Linked DNA regions of Homo sapiens: regions 2 and 3 are each linked to region 1. Evidence: promoter capture Hi-C in human tissues and cell types (Jung and others, 2019). All regions are on one chromosome and are shown on one strand. Each heading gives the region's core, a stretch centred on a gene start or on the middle of the fragment in contact. The rest is flanking DNA. Distances are from core to core; before and after follow the strand shown. Region 1 holds the start of PRKAR2A (protein kinase cAMP-dependent type II regulatory subunit alpha). Region 2 overlaps ATRIP (ATR interacting protein). Region 3 holds the start of GPX1 (glutathione peroxidase 1).

Evidence for each region. Contacts are between HindIII fragments. The study calls those that stand out against the background at their distance.
Region 2: a contact is called between a fragment that was not itself captured here and the fragment with the promoter of PRKAR2A in region 1, in 3 of the 25 tissues and cell types used here (aorta, bladder and dorsolateral prefrontal cortex).
Region 3: a contact is called between the fragment with the promoter of GPX1 here and the fragment with the promoter of PRKAR2A in region 1, in 1 of the 25 tissues and cell types used here (bladder).

Annotation. Positions count from the first base shown.
Region 1 is chr3:48,845,954-48,849,278 of GRCh38, reverse strand. It overlaps PRKAR2A (protein kinase cAMP-dependent type II regulatory subunit alpha), which reads left to right and starts at 1,405. Exons shown (of 11, transcript NM_004157.4): 1 at 1,405-1,944. The coding sequence starts at 1,683. PRKAR2A-AS1 (PRKAR2A antisense RNA 1) reads right to left here and starts at 1,342. Exons shown (of 3, transcript NR_109997.1): 1 at 1,254-1,342; 2 at 871-1,174; 3 at 1-292. RefSeq lists a silencer at 1,263-1,592. The HindIII fragment of the contact is 13,078 bases long and covers 1-3,325 here.
Region 2 is chr3:48,457,729-48,460,509 of GRCh38, reverse strand. ATRIP (ATR interacting protein) reads right to left here. Exons shown (of 13, transcript NM_130384.3): 6 at 1,056-1,151; 7 at 594-723; 8 at 1-400. ATRIP-TREX1 (ATRIP-TREX1 readthrough) reads right to left here. Exons shown (of 15, transcript NR_153405.1): 6 at 1,056-1,151; 7 at 594-723; 8 at 1-400. Among named protein-coding and RNA genes, the nearest start is that of TREX1, 7.1 kb to the left of the region's middle. The HindIII fragment of the contact is 6,156 bases long and covers 1-2,781 here.
Region 3 is chr3:49,356,619-49,360,090 of GRCh38, reverse strand. GPX1 (glutathione peroxidase 1) reads left to right here and starts at 1,738. Exons shown (of 2, transcript NM_000581.4): 1 at 1,738-2,064; 2 at 2,344-2,915. The coding sequence starts at 1,813. The coding sequence ends at 2,703. It overlaps RHOA (ras homolog family member A), which reads left to right. Exons shown (of 5, transcript NM_001664.4): 5 at 1-946. RefSeq lists enhancers at 845-1,453, 1,216-1,545, 1,454-2,062 and a silencer at 1,706-1,765. The HindIII fragment of the contact is 32,276 bases long and covers 1-3,472 here.

The DNA.
Region 1 (3,325 bases), core at 156-2,655:
GGTGGTTGGCTGAGCCGTGGGGCATCTGAGAACAAGTCAGTAGACCTTCTCCAAGAGTATGCAATAAGGACTGAGCAGGAAAAAAGTTGGAGACTGCCTGTCCCCTCACAAAGTTGATGGTCTAACATTCTTCTCAGGGTCAAGAAACTTGTCCAGGGAGACACTGCTGTTTATAATCACAGGCCTGCTTAGCCTAGAACCTGGGCTGGCCTCTTCATCAGTGGGGATGAGGGCTCCTTGCTCCCAGCTGCTCAGCTCCCAGCAGCATTGAGCTCCTGGGTGTGTGCCAAGCCTGTATGGGAGGTGATAGGGAGGATTTTAATTAATACTGAGTAATTACCAGGCGGTGTTTAAGCATCCCAAATGCCCTCAGGTTCCCAAACCTACAGCTACTCTCTTCCTGGCTAGGCCTGTAAGGAGAGGGGGACTCTGCTCTATGCCCAGTGGGCCTTTGGTTAGCACGTAGGCTGTAGACTGGACATCCCAGGAAGGTCTCCACCTTTTTCAATACCCTTCCAGTTTGGTAGGAGGAGGAGGGCAATTTGGGAAATAGTCTGGCCTCTACAGTTCACCTATACCATCTTCCCAGGGGCAAAGGATAACAATGCCTGTGGTCTGCTCAACTTCATCAAGCAGTGTTGACCTAGGGCCCAGTGTAGAATGTGGGGAGAGGAATGGGCAGACCTAGATCTGGGGACCCTGGTGAAAGTGCTCCAGGAGGAACAGGCACAGAGGTCTTTGCTGCTTTTGGCCTTATTTCCCTTTCTCACTGTACACATTTGGCTGAGTGAACTCTTTCAAATTTATTTTTCTGTCTGTGGCTCTCAAATTATGATCTCATTCAAACGCCTACTTCCTACAAGGCCTTACCCGTTTGACATCTCAGAGACCTGACAGACTCCTGAGTTATTCCACCATTCCACCTGGCAGCCAAGGTGGTCTTGACTCCACCAGGCCTTTGCTCTTGTTGTATGTTCAGATGGCTTTCCTCCAGATCTTCCCCTGGGCGGGTCCTGCTCAGGCCTCGGGGCTAGCTTGAATGTCACGCCGGAAAGTGAGCCCTCTCTTGCCCTTCATCACAGCAGAATCACACTGATGTGCTCGTATGCTTCTGCTTCTCGCTGTGTCTCTGGTGCTTAGTAAGTGCTGGCCAAAAAGAGGCTCTTGGCATCAGCTGAAAGAATAATTTAAAGGTCTTCAGGACCAGGCGAGAGGCACTAATCGGTCCCCTTCATGGGTAGACCGTTCATTACCTAATTCCCTGGATTCCCTCCGTGAGCTGGCATCAGGAACACTCCACTGTCTCGACCCCCCGACAGCCCGAGGGGGCGGGTCATCTAGTGGCGCAAGCGCACTGAGGGCCGGTGCTAAGCGGGGACGCGCACGCCCGCGGTGGCGTGCGTCACAACCAGGACGCCTGCCCCGCCCGTCCAGCTCGCCTGCCCGTCGGTCCCCGCGGCGGCGGCGGCTGCCCAGTGACAGCGGCGGCGGTGCCAGGTCGGCCGTGGTAGCGTAGGGTTGCGCGGCCCGGAAACGCAGAGCCGGCCAAAGAGCGGCGCGACGTGAGCCGGGGCCGTGCGCGAAGAGACCTCGCGGGCGCGGAGCGAAAGGCCGGCGTGAGTGAGCGCGGAGACAGTGGCCGCCGGCGGCCCAACCCGTCTATCCCTTCGGCCGCCGCCGGCATGAGCCACATCCAGATCCCGCCGGGGCTCACGGAGCTGCTGCAGGGCTACACGGTGGAGGTGCTGCGACAGCAGCCGCCTGACCTCGTCGAATTCGCAGTGGAGTACTTCACCCGCCTGCGCGAGGCCCGCGCCCCAGCCTCAGTCCTGCCCGCCGCCACCCCACGCCAGAGCCTGGGCCACCCCCCGCCAGAACCCGGCCCGGACCGTGTCGCCGACGCCAAAGGGGACAGCGAGTCGGAGGAGGACGAGGACTTGGAAGGTAGGCTGTGGGCGGGGCCCTGGGGAGTGGTGCAGGAGGTCTCCAGAGGTCTAGAGGGGTGGCAGGGAGCCAGGTGTCGCGCCGCAGCCAAGCCGACCGCAGGCTGGGATTGGGAGCTCTGTAGCCGCGTTTCTAGCGTTTCCCTGAGACACCGGCGTGAGCCCGCGTGCGCCACTTCCAAATTGAGCTCCGCGATCCTGCGAGCCCTAGAGCGCACCGAGTGATTTGTCAGATCCAGCCTTGAAGGAAACGTGCGCGCTGTCGGCCCTGCTAGAGGATCCCTCGCCTTTGCTTAAGACCCTTCACCAGTTTTGGCTTCGAAGACAACAGCGTTCTCATCCAGTGACTTGTGTTTAATTGATAGGACAGTAAGTTTGTTTGGAAATAATAATTTTTTTTGAAAAGTTACTGTGAAAACTTTTAAGCATAGACAAAAGAGGAAAGGTGAGATGAATCCCTATATGCCATCACCTACATTTAACAGTTGCGTTTGTCACAAAGTTTCATCCATACCTTTTTTCTTTCTTTGCCGAAGTGTATTAAAGCAAATCTCTCAGGTCATTTCACCTCTGCTTACTTGAGTTTGTATTTCTTCAAACATGGTCCCTGGGAATATTCCTATTTTTAAAAACTTGGCCAAAACGATTGAATCAAATTTGGTGAGAGTAAATAATTATCTTGCCGGCCGGGGCAGTGGGCCCCTATAGTCTATACCAGCTACTCTGGAGGCTGAGGAGGAAATATCGCTTGAATCCAAGAGTTCGAGACCAGCCTGGGCAAAATAGACACCCTACCTCATTTTTGAAAACGAAAAACCTGGCCGGGCGTGGTGGGTCACGCCTGTAGTCCCAGCACTTTGGGAGGCCGAGGCGGGTGGATCACCTGAGGTCAGGAGTTCGAGACCAGCCTGGCCAACATGGCGAAACCCCGTCTCTACTAAAAATACAAAAATTAGCCGGGCGTGGTGGCGGGCGTCTGTAGTCCCAGCTACTTGGGAGGCTGAGGCAGGGAGAATCGCTTGAACCTGGGAGGCGGAGGTTGCAGTGAGCCAAGATCATGCCACTGCACTCCAGCCTGGGCGACAGAGCGAACTCCGTCTCAAAAAAAAAAAAAAAGAAAAAGGAAAAACCCAGTAACTATATTCTTGTTTAGTGGGTGGGTTGTAGCTTTAAAGGAAAGGATCCCAGCAGAGACTGAGATCAGGAGAGCAGCTTCATTGGCTCTACTTGCTGTGTCAGGATTTATCATTTAGTAATAGTAAACCTTCTCCAAGAGTTTGCAATAAACTCCAAGAGTACGCAATAAGGACCGAGCAGGAAACAAGTTGGAGACTGTCCCTCCCCTCACAGATTTGGTGATCCAAGATCATCACACCTTTTTT
Region 2 (2,781 bases), core at 112-2,611, 390 kb after region 1:
CAGGTGCTGAAGAATGCTAAGTGCAGTCACAGAGAAGCCTTCCAGGATGCACACTGAGTCCTCAGGGTTGGTCTCTACCCCAGAGCTCACGCAGGAGGAATGTGTCGGTGAGTCCCCAGGTGCTCCGCTTCTCTTAGCAGCTGCCAAGTCCTGCAGGGCCTGGCAGTGTAAGCCGATGAAGAACTGTACAAGGGGGAGGAAATGCACGGCTCCAGGAAGCTGGCAGAGTGGGAAGGCCCTTCTGCCTCCCTCTGCTGGGTCTCCATCACGTGAGCACTCATTCCGGGCAACCAGATTCAGTCCAGTGAATGCCAGGTTCTGTGCTTCTCTCAGGGCTGAGAGGGAAAATGACCCATCATAAGAACCTGTGGTCCTGAGGCCTGACATTCCAGCCAAGGTACTGGCAACAAACACAAAGAAAAATAGATTAAGTGTGGGATGGAGATAAGGTCAAGAGCCCCAAACAGCCTGCCTGCCAAATTCTCCAGGCTGCCTGCCCTTCCCACAGACTTCTCAGGCTGGCCAGGGCCAGAAAGGAATTTGCTTCCAGGAAGCTCCTTCCCAAACAAGCTTTCCAGGAGTCTTATGCTTACCTGCCAAACCCTGGTGGCTGCAGGGGGGTGCCAGCAGGAGACTCAGAACTACTACTCAGGAGGTGGCAAAGGCTTAGGGATGACCCTGGGATCAAAGGCTGCTTCAGGAGCAGGTTTATCAAAATGGAACCTGCAGAAGACAAGATGACTCTAGAAGGTTCTGACATGGGAGATCTTTTCGGTGGCTTTCAGAAGGAAACAGTAAGGATTCTTTGGATGCCAACTGTCCTCTAGGCTGCCACTAAGCCCCAGGAAGATGCCTGTGGGTGCGGAAGGCTCTGGGACATACCTGCCCTTGGCCCTTTCCACTTTATAAAGTCTTCTGCTTAAGCCACATACTTTGACTTCCCTGGACTCTCTGAAGGACTGCCCGGGGCACCGGTTCTCAGAGGCCTGGGCAATTCTTCTGCATATTACTCAGAGCCATGCAGGCCCCTGCAGGAGAAGCAGGGATTCTGGTACCTTGAGTGTTTGATCTCTGTCTCCAGCTGTCAACAAAGCTTTTCTGGGCCTCTTCTTGTTTTATGGAGTCACCTCTCAGACTGTGGGGCTTACTATCTGAAATGTGATAAAATGTAAATCAAAACTTGAGCCCAGAAGCATGGGCATATTAGAAACTTTTACATGCAATGAGTTTAAAACACACGCTGTTCTACTTCTTCGAACTTGGAACAAACAAGAGCCAAAGCGGCTCAAGAGCCCTGCATCTTTTACCTTCCTTATGTAAAACAGGAACTCATACAAGGAAAGGAAAAGAAAATCAAGCTGTTTGCCTCACTCAAAATGAGGCAATTAGATAAAACAGTGACCACTAACATTGACATGGTGCTTGTTACGTGCTAGACAGTGTTTTAAGAGCTCTATACGCATCAGCCCATTTGTTCCTCAGTGACCCTACAAGGATTTATCATTAGGTCTGTTTTACATATAGGGAAACTGAGGCACAGAGACTAAAGGACTTGCCCAAATCATATAAGCCAGTTAACAGCATTACTGGGACTCACATCCAGGCTACTGGGCTCTACTGCCTGCTTGTAACACTACTGTACACTGCCCCTTTAGCTGCTAGATGCCAAAAATGTAAGTGGGCTACAGTTTCTCAGAAGTGTTATGATGGCCAAGGATTTGAAAGGTTGATGGTAAGAAGAGGGTCAATGTATCCGATTTATAAGATACACTGACATAGCAGTCTGAAAACCTACTGATGTTAGATTGTCTCTCTCTAAAAAACAGCAGATCCCCTCAATCTGGACTGAGTTATAAAAACTCAAAAGCTGGACTACAAAAGGAAAACAGAGGCTGGGCACGGTGGCTCATGCCTGTAATCCCAGCATTTTGGGAGGCTGAAGTGGGTGGATCACGAGGTCATGAGATTGAGACCATCCAGGCCAACATGGTGAAACCTGTCTCTACTAAAAATACAAAAATTAGCTGGGTGTGGTGGCGCATGCCTGTAGTCCCAGCTACTCGGGAGGCTGAGGCAGGAGAATCGCTTGAACATGGGAGGCAGAGGTTACAGTGAGCCGAGATCACGCCACTGCACTCCAGCCTGGTGACAGAGTGAGACTCCGCCTCAAAGAAAAAAAAAAAAAACAAGAAAAGAAAAACAGATTCCTGCATACTAGCTAGGTTTTTGGCATGGTCAATTGATGCTGTGATGGTTTAAAAATATGCCCACAAGCATGATGGCAGGTGCCTGTAATCCCAGCTATTCGGGAGTCTGAGGCAGGAGAATCACTTGAACCCGGGAGGCGGAAGTTGCAGTGAGCTGAGATCGTGCCATTGCACTCCAGCCTGGGTGACAGGGTGAGACTCCGCCTCAAAAAAAAAAAAAAAAAGGCCCACAAATGCTTTGACACAACTCCCCTTCAAAAGGTATAAGCTTGGGAGGAGGGGGGAGGGATAGCATTAGGAGATATACCTAATGCTAAATGACGAGTTAATGGGTGCAACACACCAACATGGCACATGTATACATACGTAACACACCTGCACGTTGTGCACATGTACCCTAAAATTTAAAGTATAATAATAAAATAAAAATAAAAAATAAAAATTAAAAAAAAGGTATAAGCTTGGTTTCTCCCCTTGAATGACGCCCAGACTCAGTGATTTGCTTCTAACAAATACAATGTGGCAGAGGGGATGCTGTGTGACTTCTGAGGCTAGGCCATAAATGGATAGCTTC
Region 3 (3,472 bases), core at 489-2,988, 510 kb before region 1:
AGTCATCTTGCTACCAGTATTTAGAAGCCAACTATGATTATTAACGATGTCCAACCCGTCTGGCCCACCAGGGTCCTTTTGACACTGCTCTAACAGCCCTCCTCTGCACTCCCACCTGACACACCAGGCGCTAATTCAAGGAATTTCTTAACTTCTTGCTTCTTTCTAGAAAGAGAAACAGTTGGTAACTTTTGTGAATTAGGCTGTAACTACTTTATAACTAACATGTCCTGCCTATTATCTGTCAGCTGCAAGGTACTCTGGTGAGTCACCACTTCAGGGCTTTACTCCGTAACAGATTTTGTTGGCATAGCTCTGGGGTGGGCAGTTTTTTGAAAATGGGCTCAACCAGAAAAGCCCAAGTTCATGCAGCTGTGGCAGAGTTACAGTTCTGTGGTTTCATGTTAGTTACCTTATAGTTACTGTGTAATTAGTGCCACTTAATGTATGTTACCAAAAATAAATATATCTACCCCAGACTAGATGTAGTATTTTTTGTATAATTGGATTTCCTAATACTGTCATCCTCAAAGAAAGTGTATTGGTTTTTTAAAAAAGAAAGTGTATTTGGAAATAAAGTCAGATGGAAAATTCATTTTTTAAATTCCCGTTTTGTCACTTTTTCTGATAAAAGATGGCCATATTACCCCTTTTCGGCCCCATGTATCTCAGTACCCCATGGAGCTGGGCTAAGTAAATAGGAATTGGTTTCACGCCTGAGGCAATTAGACACTTTGGAAGATGGCATAACCTGTCTCACCTGGACTTAAGCATCTGGCTCTAATTCACAGTGCTCTTTTCTCCTCACTGTATCCAGGTTCCCTCCCAGAGGAGCCACCAGTTCTCATGGGTGGCACTCAGTCTCTCTTCTCTCCAGCTGACTAAACTTTTTTTCTGTACCAGTTAATTTTTCCAACTACTAATAGAATAAAGGCAGTTTTCTAAACTTCCTGTATCCTGTTGTTTGTGTTGCTCTCTCCAGGGCTGGGGGTAGGAGGATGCAAGGACTTCCTGGCCTAGCTCACCCTGGAGAGGTTTGTTGAGTGCAAAGGACTAGCTTGTGCCCCACCTCCCACCCACCCAGCAGCTAATCTGGTCCCTCCCAACAACATGGAAATGATTACCCTGTACCGCATTCTGGTTCAGATTTGGGGGTAGGGTGAATGCAGCCTGAGGAGGCCAGGGAGGGAGGACTCCGGCAGCGTTTCCTTGGCCTCGGCGAGCTACTGGGCTCCACTTAAGGAGGCTGGGGCAGAGCTTCCAGGACTCTGCCCGGTTAGAAAACCCGCACGAGGGCGGTGCCGCTTTGGAGACAGGGAGGAGGGAGACCGGAAGCCTAGATCCCTCTGGCTGTCCCCTGCACTGCCGGTAACATGGCACAGGAGAGGAGGGCTGTTTGTGCACGGGCAGCTCCTGCAGCTGCTGCCGTCGCCCACCAGCCTCCTATGCCAAACCCCACATCCTAACTCAGGAACCTCTGAGAAAAAACGGAGCCCTCGAGGGCCCCAGCCCTTGGAAGGGTAACCTGGACCGCTGCCGCCTGGTTGCCTGGGCCAGACCAGACATGCCTGCTGCTCCTTCCGGCTTAGGAGGAGCACGCGTCCCGCTCGGGCGCACTCTCCAGCCTTTTCCTGGCTGAGGAGGGGCCGAGCCCTCCGGGTAGGGCGGGGGCCGGATGAGGCGGGACCCTCAGGCCCGGAAAACTGCCTGTGCCACGTGACCCGCCGCCGGCCAGTTAAAAGGAGGCGCCTGCTGGCCTCCCCTTACAGTGCTTGTTCGGGGCGCTCCGCTGGCTTCTTGGACAATTGCGCCATGTGTGCTGCTCGGCTAGCGGCGGCGGCGGCGGCGGCCCAGTCGGTGTATGCCTTCTCGGCGCGCCCGCTGGCCGGCGGGGAGCCTGTGAGCCTGGGCTCCCTGCGGGGCAAGGTACTACTTATCGAGAATGTGGCGTCCCTCTGAGGCACCACGGTCCGGGACTACACCCAGATGAACGAGCTGCAGCGGCGCCTCGGACCCCGGGGCCTGGTGGTGCTCGGCTTCCCGTGCAACCAGTTTGGGCATCAGGTGCGCCGGGCGGAGCGGGGCGGGGCGGGGGCGGACGTGCAGTAGTGGCTGGGGGCGCCGGCGGTGTGCTGGTGGGTGCCGTCGGCTCCATGCGCGGAGAGTCTGGCTACTCTCTCGTTTCCTTTCTGTTGCTCGTAGCTGCTGAAATTCCTCTCCGCCCTTGGGATTGCGCATGGAGGGCAAAATCCCGGTGACTCATAGAAAATCTCCCTTGTTTGTGGTTAGAACGTTTCTCTCCTCCTCTTGACCCCGGGTTCTAGCTGCCCTTCTCTCCTGTAGGAGAACGCCAAGAACGAAGAGATTCTGAATTCCCTCAAGTACGTCCGGCCTGGTGGTGGGTTCGAGCCCAACTTCATGCTCTTCGAGAAGTGCGAGGTGAACGGTGCGGGGGCGCACCCTCTCTTCGCCTTCCTGCGGGAGGCCCTGCCAGCTCCCAGCGACGACGCCACCGCGCTTATGACCGACCCCAAGCTCATCACCTGGTCTCCGGTGTGTCGCAACGATGTTGCCTGGAACTTTGAGAAGTTCCTGGTGGGCCCTGACGGTGTGCCCCTACGCAGGTACAGCCGCCGCTTCCAGACCATTGACATCGAGCCTGACATCGAAGCCCTGCTGTCTCAAGGGCCCAGCTGTGCCTAGGGCGCCCCTCCTACCCCGGCTGCTTGGCAGTTGCAGTGCTGCTGTCTCGGGGGGGTTTTCATCTATGAGGGTGTTTCCTCTAAACCTACGAGGGAGGAACACCTGATCTTACAGAAAATACCACCTCGAGATGGGTGCTGGTCCTGTTGATCCCAGTCTCTGCCAGACCAAGGCGAGTTTCCCCACTAATAAAGTGCCGGGTGTCAGCAGAACTGTGTGTATGTCCTGTGTCATTGTCATTTGGGAATTCTTTTTCTTTTCTTTTTTTTTTTTTTTTTTTGAGACGGAGTTTTTTGCTCTATTGCCCAGGCTGGAGTGCAGTGGCGCAATCTAGGCTCACTGCAAGCTCCGCCTCCCGGGTTCACGCCATTCTCCTGCCTCAACCTCCTGAGTAGCTGGGACTACAGGTGCCTGCCACCACGCCCGGCTAATTTTTTGTATTTTTAGTAGAGACAGGGTTTCACCGTGTTAGCCAGGATGGTATCGATCTCCTGACCTCGTGATCCACCCGCCTCGGCCTCCCAAAGTGCTGGGATTACAGGTATGAGCCACCGCACCCGGCCTGGCGATACTTTTTCTAACCTCATTGTCATAGTGGTGGGAACTTAATCCTCCTTCCCTTATCCTAGCCAAGTCTGAACTTTCTGTCCTTTTGTCTGCAGCGTGTAGGATCCACTCTTTCCTTTGTGGGAAGTCTGGCTCCTGGCCTGCATTTCTGCCTTCACCAGAACATGCAAAGGGCCATCTCAAGACCCAGTTACAACAAAGT